3 separate regions of the Homo sapiens genome follow, and regions 1 and 3 are each linked to region 2. The links are contacts of gene promoters, found by promoter capture Hi-C in human tissues and cell types (Jung and others, 2019). All regions are on one chromosome and are shown on one strand. Each heading gives the region's core, a stretch centred on a gene start or on the middle of the fragment in contact. The rest is flanking DNA. Distances are from core to core; before and after follow the strand shown.

The links. The method cuts DNA at HindIII sites, captures the fragments that hold promoters and counts their contacts. A contact is called where the count stands out against the background at its distance.
Region 1: a contact is called between a fragment that was not itself captured here and the fragment with the promoter of C16orf54 in region 2, in 1 of the 25 tissues and cell types used here (IMR-90 fibroblasts).
Region 3: a contact is called between the fragment with the promoter of SEPHS2 here and the fragment with the promoter of C16orf54 in region 2, in 1 of the 25 tissues and cell types used here (spleen).

Annotation. Positions count from the first base shown.
Region 1 is chr16:29,011,045-29,014,090 of GRCh38, reverse strand. No RefSeq gene overlaps it. Among named protein-coding and RNA genes, the nearest start is that of LAT, 28 kb to the right of the region's middle. The HindIII fragment of the contact is 6,909 bases long and covers 1-3,046 here.
Region 2 is chr16:29,744,636-29,747,413 of GRCh38, reverse strand. It overlaps C16orf54 (chromosome 16 open reading frame 54), which reads left to right and starts at 1,424. Exons shown (of 2, transcript NM_175900.4): 1 at 1,424-1,503; 2 at 2,463-2,778. The coding sequence starts at 2,463. It overlaps LOC124903673 (a long non-coding RNA gene), which reads right to left and starts at 2,167. Exons shown (of 2, transcript XR_007065046.1): 1 at 2,029-2,167. RefSeq lists enhancers at 488-557, 1,085-1,134. The HindIII fragment of the contact is 21,250 bases long and covers 1-2,778 here.
Region 3 is chr16:30,444,432-30,447,131 of GRCh38, reverse strand. SEPHS2 (selenophosphate synthetase 2) reads left to right here and starts at 1,258. Exons shown (of 1, transcript NM_012248.4): 1 at 1,258-2,700. The coding sequence starts at 1,405. RefSeq lists a silencer at 1,674-1,793 and an enhancer at 1,120-2,066. The HindIII fragment of the contact is 9,223 bases long and covers 1-2,700 here.

The DNA.
Region 1 (3,046 bases), core at 29-2,528, 730 kb after region 2:
CAACTCAGGAAAGAAAACATATTGAAAGACTCAAAATACACCAAACTGGTGCTGATCTCATTTTGCAGAGGTCAGTCTGCTCTCCCCTCTCTGAGAGTGTGTTACTGTGCTTAGTAAACTTTGGCTTCTTGCTCTGTGTGTCTCCTCTGATTCTTTGTTCATAGCACCAAGAAACTGGGACTTTGGTAACATGATCTATTTTTTTTTTTTTTTTTTTTTTTTAGACAGTGTCTTGCTCTGTGGCCCTGGCTGGAGGGCAGTGGCTCAATGTCAGCTCACTGCAGTCTTGACCTCCTGGGCTCAAGCCATCCTCCCACCTCAGCCTCCCAAGTAGCTGGGACCATAGGCATGTGCCACCACACCTGACTAATTTTTTAATTTTTTGTAGAGACAGGGTCTCTCTATGTTACTCAAGCTGGTCTCAAATTTCTGGGCCCAAGCCATCCTCCCATCTTGGCCTCCCAAATGTTGGGATTACAGGCATGAGCCACTGCGCCCAGTCATTCCACCTCTTAATACCATCACGATGGCAATTAAACATGAGTTTTGGAGGGGACTTTTAATTGTAGCACCGTGCAATGGAATATTATTCAACCTTCAAAAGGAAGGAAATCCTATCGCACGCTATGGCATGGATGAATCTGGAGGACATTATGCTAATGAAATAAGCCAGTCACACACATGCAAAAACAAGAAACAGAAAGTAGACTGGCAGTTGCCAGGAGTTGTTGTTTAATGGGTAGGGAGTTTTAGTTTTGCAAAGATGAAAAACACTTTTGCAAGATGAAAAAGTTCTAGAGATCTGTTGCACAACGATGTGAATATACTTAACACTACTGAACTGTACACTTACAAATGGTTAAGATGGTAAATGTTATCTTATGTGGTGGGGTTTTTTTTAACCATAGCATCTAAAAAAATTAAACACGTTGGTGAGCAATCAGTTTGCAGTCTCTCCTTTAGACAGTGCTTTCTCTAAGGCTGGGAACGTACCACGTGTTAGGGCTGGAAGGAACTTGTTGTTAAGGGCCTCACGTGTTTGTCTTAAGCTCTTTTTTAATTCATTTGCTCAACATGATTGTCGAACAGCTACTCTGTGCCAAGCTCTTTGCTGGACCCTGGAGTGACAGAGATGAACAGGGAGCTCACAGTCCCAAGGAGGATAGACAAAAACACCAAATGTATAAAGAGATCAGCGTTATAGCCGGGTGCGGTGGTTCAAGCCTGTAATCCCAGCACTTTGGGAGGCCAAGGCTGGTGCATCACATGAGGACAGGAGTTCAAGACCAGCCTGGCCAACATGGTGAAACCCCATCTCTACTAAAAATACAAAAATTAGCCAGGCATGGTGGCACATGCCTGTAGTCCCAGCTACTTGGGAGGCTAGGGCAGAAGGATTGATTGCTTGAACCCAGGAGGTGGAGGTTGCAGTGAGCCAATATCATGCCATTGCACTCCAGCCTGGGCAACAGGGCCAGACAGACTCCATCTCAAAAAAAAAAGAGATCAGCATTAGGAAGTCAATTCAATGGGGTAATGAGATGCAGGGGGACTGAGATGGGAACACACACAGTTACATGGGGTGGAGGGTGAAGGCTCCTCCTAGCAGAGGAAACTTCAGCCAGATCCACATGATGGAAGGAGGAGGCCACGTGAGGCCATGGGGGCAGAGTTCCAGGCAGAGGGAACAGCAAGTGCAAAAACCCAGAGGAAGAAAAGAGCCTGGTGGTTTTGGGGTGTCGAGGAAGCAAAAAGGCCCACATGACTGACTCAGGGAGCAAGTGGGGGAGGTGGGTGGTTGAAATACTGCCAGCAGCCCCAATATACATGGAATGGGAAAAAGGCCACCTTTACCAGCGTAGACTTGTTTTGCAAATTCAAATGGATCATTATTTTCTATGGAAAAAATAATAAATTATGGCCAGACGTGGTGGCTCACACCTGTAATCCAGCACTTTGGGATGCCAAGGCAGGAGGATCACTTGAGCCCAAGAGGTTGAGGCTGCAGTGAGCCATCATTCACACCACTGCACTCCAGCCTGGGCAACAGAGCAAGACCCCATCTCTAAAAAAAGTCGATCAATTAATAAATAATAACAACAAACTGATTTGTCCTAGAGAAAGGCTAGGTCAACAGAAACCCCTGAAAGCCTCATATTTGCCTCGATACATTCAATGTCTGCTGAATCCCTGAATCAGCTTCTTGGAGTGGTTTACAAGCCATGGATTTGATCTGACTCCCTTCACCCCGACGCAGCAGGTGGGTGGGAGGAGCTCCACGCAAGGCTGGTGGAACAGGAGTCAGGCCCAGAGGTAGGGCGAGGAGGCCTGGGAGAAGAGTTCCGTCACCATGGTCCTTAATTACATTGGAGAAGCCTCAATTGTGGTTTCTGGAGGGACCTGTGTCCCACTTCATTTATGGGGAGAACTCTCTCCCCAACCTCCAGGCAGCCTGGACCTGGATGTGGAGCCTGGACTAGGCCAATCACAGGTGCTGGTGAACAGAGAGGAAGGGACAGTTAGGGCCAAGCCAGTGGCCCAACACAGAGCTGGGGTGTCTGGGCAGGGCAACAGTAGTCCCTGCTATGCACAACTGTCCCCCACGTCCCATTGGCTTTCCAGGACGGCTTCCCCACTCCAATGATCCCTTGTGCCTGGCTGGCCCTCCCATTAATCTCCAGCATTTAACAGCTCCAGTTGGTTTCCGTTGCTTGCCACCAGGAGCTCTGAAGGATGCAGAGGGTCTCTCAGGCTCTGGGGCCTCTGCAGAGCCTGCCACGGCTGCTGGGATCCCAGCGCTGCCACCCAGAGGCCTTGTGGTCTCGGACAGGTGATCGACGGTGCTGCCAGGCTGTGATTAAGAGATGGTAGAGCCAGAAAAGAGTTAGCTACCAGTGGGCTTTGTGTTTCCTAAAATTTCATTCTTCTGAATCTACATTCACCATTTGTGACTTTTACTATATCCATAACTGTCTGTTCCCACTTTATTAGTTTTCTACTTTTTTTTTTTTTTTTTTTGAAACAGAGTCTTGCTCTATCACCCAGG
Region 2 (2,778 bases), core at 175-2,674:
TTGCCATGTTGGCCAGGCTGCTCCCAAACTCCTGACCTCAGGTGATCCACCCGCCTCGGTCTCCCAAAGTGCTGGGATTACAGGCATGAGCCACCTCGCCCAGCCCAGGGATTTCTATCTATTCTTCCACCACCCTGGCCACTACATGCTCACCCACACATACATTGGTCATGCGACTTTGGTCATGAAATCTCTTTTCTTTAAGCCTTACTTTTGTCATCTGTGGATGAGTCAAACTAGAGAATCTCAGAAAGTCACCTGGACTCCAGAGCCTGATGACATCTTGTCACACTCTGCTCCAGGCTCCTCCCACCCTCAGCAGCAGGAAAGAGGGACAGACATGAGGATGGTCAGGGTTTTGGAAACAGGCCCACGCCTGTTTTTATACCCTGGACTCCTCTCAGAGGCTTGACATTTTTGTTACCCAAGCCTCACCTCACTGATATTTTCCAACCAAAATGGGGGCTAAATGGTCTGAAGAGAGAGAGACTTATGTTAATTAAAAGTATGAGGCAGGGGCCAGTGTGGTAGCTCACACCTGTAATCCCAGCACTTTGGGAGGCTGAGGCAGGAGGATCTCTTGAGGCCAGGAGCTTGAGACCAGCCTGGGCAACATAGCAAGAGCCCATCTCTACCAGAAAAAAAAAAAAAAGGTGTGAAGCAAGCTGGCCAAGCAGGGGGTGCCTGTGGGGGCTGCATGGCAGGAGCAGATCTGGGGAGGCACCGTGGATAAGACAAGGCAGGATGGGGTGGGGCATCCTCCCAGGAGGAACGGGGGAGGCACCATGGTTCTCTGGGAATGTACGGGCTAAAGTCCCAGTGTCCTATTTCTTTTTCTTTTCTTTTCTTTTCTTTTTTTTTAAGACGGAGTCTCACTCTGTTGCCCAGGCTGGAGTGTGGTGGCACGATCTCAGCTCACTGCAACCTCCGAGTCCCGGGTTCAAGCGATTCTCCCTGCCTCAGCCGCCTGAGCAGCTGAGATTACAAGTGCCCGTCACCATGCCCAGCTAATTTTTGTATTTTTCAGTAGAGATGGGGTTTCGCCATGTTGGCAGGCTGGTCTCGAACTCCTGACCTCAGGTGACTTGCCCACCTTGACCTCCCAAAATGCTGGGATTACAGGGGTGAGCCACTGTGCCTGGCCCCGGCGTCCTCTTTCTCAGCTTTTCGGTGAATGTTCTGGGGCTCAGGGCCTGGCTATGGGGTGACACTAAGTTCAACAGAACCATTGCCCATTCCAGCCCCACCTTACCCCAGGAAAAGCCTCCTCACCGCAGTGACCACATCCCCTTGGGTTGCTTTGGAAACAAACACTCCCCAGGGGCAGACGAGTTGGGGCACAGTTGCCCAGCAACAGGCGGTGCCCTCCCTTCCGCCTTCATCCGAGGCCGGGCCTCTACGTCTGAGAGGCGGACCGCCCTGCACCCTCCAAGCCTGCACCTCTTAGTCCAGCACCAGGAAGAGTGGCTCTAGGAGGGAGAGGAGCCCAGGGACTGACCCAAGGTGAGTTGAGGGGTGCAGGAGGCCCCCTGCAGATGGAGGATGTGGGGGACAGAGAGGTGTGCAGAGACAAACGAGAGATAGAGACAGGCCAGAGCCTGGGCAAAGCTGGGGAGCCCAGGAGGGGTGCAGAGGCGCCTCCGGAGGCCTGGCCCGGCCCGGCCCGGCAGCAGATTCCGTGGAGCCTATGAGAGCAAGATCAAGTCCGAGGAGAATGGTGAGGGGCGAAGGAGCCTCAAGGGGCCAGCGGAGGTGCTGGCGGCAGGCGGTGGGGGAGACACACGCAGGGGAGCCAGTGGGAGGGGAGGTTCTCATTTCTTCACCCACCACTTCCTCTCTAGGTCTGAGCAAGACTTGAGGGGGCCGAGTGGGGAGGAAAGAAGCCCTTGAGACCTTTCTTGTCTGAGGCACCCTGGGGTCTGGGAGGGAAATGGGGATTCTGGAAAGGCCTGGAGAGCCAGGCAGGAGGGCCTGGCTGTGCCCCGAGGTAGGCTGCCTGTCCTCCCACCCCACCTGGCTCACGCTTACCCTTTCTGGTCCCTCTTGCTTCTCTGTCTCTCCAGAATGTTCTTTTTCATTTTTGAGAAAGGGTCTTGCTCTATTGCCCAGGCTGGAGGACAGTGGTGCAATCTGGGGTCACTGCAGCTTCAAACTCCTGGGCTCAAGTAATCCTCCCACCTCAGCTTCCTGTGTAGCTGGGACTACAGGTGTGAGCCACCACACCCAGCTAGTTTTTAAATTATTTTTAGAGATGAGGTTTCACTGTGTGTCCAGGCTGGTCTTGAACTCCTGGGCTCAAGTGATCCTCCCGCCTCGACCTCTCAAAGTGCTGGGATTCCAGGCATGAGCCCCCATGCCCAGCCCTTCTCCCAGGCTTTCCTGGACACCTGCTGCCTCTCTCTCATCTTGGTTGTGCCCCCTCTGCCTCATTTACTTCCTCTTCTCACCCCTGTGTCTCTCAGATGCCGTTGACTCCAGAGCCGCCCTCTGGGCGCGTGGAGGGGCCCCCCGCATGGGAAGCAGCCCCATGGCCCTCACTGCCCTGTGGGCCCTGCATCCCCATCATGCTGGTCCTGGCCACCCTGGCTGCGCTCTTCATCCTCACCACCGCTGTGTTGGCTGAACGCCTGTTCCGCCGTGCTCTCCGCCCAGACCCCAGCCACCGTGCACCCACCCTGGTGTGGCGCCCAGGAGGAGAGCTGTGGATTGAGCCCATGGGCACCGCCCGAGAGCGCTCTGAGGACTGGTATGGCTCTGCGGTCCCCCTGCTGACAGATC
Region 3 (2,700 bases), core at 9-2,508, 700 kb before region 2:
TTACAGGTGTGAGCCACTGTGCCCGGCCCCGAAAATATCTATGTACAGTTTAAAGAACAACCATGTACCACGTACCCACCACCAGCCCAATGAACAGAATTAAACATAGCCCAGAAGCTCCCTATGTAGCCCTCCCTAGACATAGCCCCTATGCTGAGTCTTCTATTCATTTTCTTGTCTTTTAAAAAAGTTTTTATTGGCTGGGTGTGGTGGCTTATGCCTGTAATCCCAGCACTTTGGGAGGCCGAGGCCAGCAGATCACTTGAGGTCAGGAGTTTGAGACCAGCCTGGCCAACGTGGTGAAATCCCGTCTGTACTAAAAACGCAAAAATAAGCCGGGTGTGGTGGCGCACACCTGTAATCCCAGCTATTCAGGAGGCTGAAGCAGGAGAATCACTTGAACCTGGGAGGTGGAGTTTTTAATAGATATTGGCAAACTGCCCTTCATGGCTATATAAGATATATATATATATTTATTTACAGAGATATAGGAATTTTAGAATAGACCAGTCCTATGTAACCCACTCTGTTCCACAGATGGATGAGTCAACCGACGCGGAGAGTGACTCCACACAAAGCTGGTGGGAAACACCATTAGAATCCATGCAGGTGTCTGGACTTCCAGTCCTAAATCTCTCTTTTTGTGTGTGTCTGTGTGTGTGGGGGGGGTGTTTGTTTGTTTGTTATTGTTGTTTGTTTTAGAGACAGGTTCTTGCTCTGTCGCCCAGACTAGAGTGCAGTGGCGCGGACGCAGCTCACTGCAGCCTCGACCTCCTGAGTCCTAGAGTTCTTGAAGTTCCTGTTAACATTTCATTATATTGATGCTGCCTGCAGTTTGCTAACTTAATGGTAGTAGTTTAATTTCTAATTTCTCATGCTTTCTGTTTTTTCCCTTGGGCTATTTTGCCATCCTGGATCGATCATGTGCGCTGTCAAGTGACCTTTGGGACAATCCTGCCGATCATGAGGTTTGCCGAGTGACCAATCTTCCCTCGTCTACAATTTGCTGGACTTGGAAAAGTGACTGGAAGGGAGCAGAGTTCCGTCAGCCACTGCCAAGAAACCATTTAAATTACTAAGAGAGCGAAGGAAAGCACGTGACGTTCTGCAATCCCGTTGCAAGCGGTTTTGCAAGCCGGAGGTTGTTGCACCTTTTAGAGTCTAGGAAGCCCGCCTCTCGGTGGCGGAGTCGTCATTGGATGTTGCGGCTGTCAATCGCCAGGGCTATAAATAAGGGAGTCCGGCGGCTCCTCTATCAGGAAGATTGTGCATGCCGTGGGTCTGACGGCTTGAGTAGCGCTAGGGAGAATCCCTGCAGGTAATATTTGACTTTTGCTTCATATTAATCTGAGTGGAAAATAAAAGGGCCCTCTTCTCCTCTCGCTTCCCTGCCGGGCAGGCGCCATGGCGGAAGCCTCGGCGACGGGCGCCTGCGGAGAGGCGATGGCAGCGGCGGAAGGCTCCTCGGGCCCGGCGGGCTTGACTCTGGGCCGGAGCTTCTCGAACTACCGGCCCTTCGAGCCCCAGGCGTTGGGCCTCAGCCCGAGCTGGCGGCTGACGGGCTTCTCCGGCATGAAGGGCTGAGGCTGCAAGGTCCCGCAGGAGGCGCTGCTCAAACTCCTGGCGGGACTGACGCGGCCGGACGTGCGGCCCCCGCTGGGCCGGGGCCTGGTGGGTGGCCAGGAAGAGGCGTCCCAGGAAGCCGGCCTGCCGGCAGGAGCGGGCCCCAGCCCCACCTTTCCAGCCCTGGGCATCGGGATGGACTCCTGCGTCATCCCCCTGAGGCACGGGGGCCTGTCACTGGTGCAGACCACGGACTTCTTTTACCCCTTGGTAGAAGATCCCTACATGATGGGGCGCATAGCTTGTGCCAACGTGCTGAGTGACCTCTACGCCATGGGGATTACTGAGTGTGACAACATGTTGATGTTACTCAGCGTCAGCCAGAGTATGAGTGAGGAGGAACGCGAAAAGGTAACGCCACTCATGGTCAAAGGCTTTCGGGATGCGGCTGAGGAAGGAGGGACGGCAGTGACCGGTGGGCAAACGGTGGTCAACCCTTGGATTATAATCGGTGGAGTTGCCACTGTAGTATGCCAACCAAATGAGTTCATAATGCCGGACAGCGCCGTCGTTGGGGACGTGCTGGTGTTAACCAAACCGTTAGGAACCCAGGTTGCTGTCAATGCCCACCAATGGCTGGATAATCCTGAAAGATGGAATAAAGTAAAGATGGTGGTCTCCAGAGAAGAGGTGGAGCTGGCCTATCAGGAAGCCATGTTCAATATGGCTACCCTCAACAGAACTGCTGCAGGTTTAATGCACACATTTAATGCCCATGCGGCCACAGATATCACAGGCTTTGGCATTCTAGGACACTCCCAGAACCTTGCAAAACAACAAAGAAATGAAGTGTCCTTTGTTATTCATAATCTGCCAATAATTGCCAAGATGGCTGCCGTCAGCAAGGCCAGTGGACGGTTTGGGCTTCTTCAAGGAACCTCAGCTGAAACCTCTGGGGGATTACTGATTTGTCTGCCAAGAGAACAGGCGGCTCGCTTTTGTTCTGAAATCAAATCCTCCAAGTACGGAGAGGGTCACCAAGCGTGGATCGTTGGCATTGTGGAAAAGGGAAACCGAACGGCCCGGATCATTGACAAGCCGCGAGTTATTGAAGTCCTGCCTCGTGGGGCCACAGCT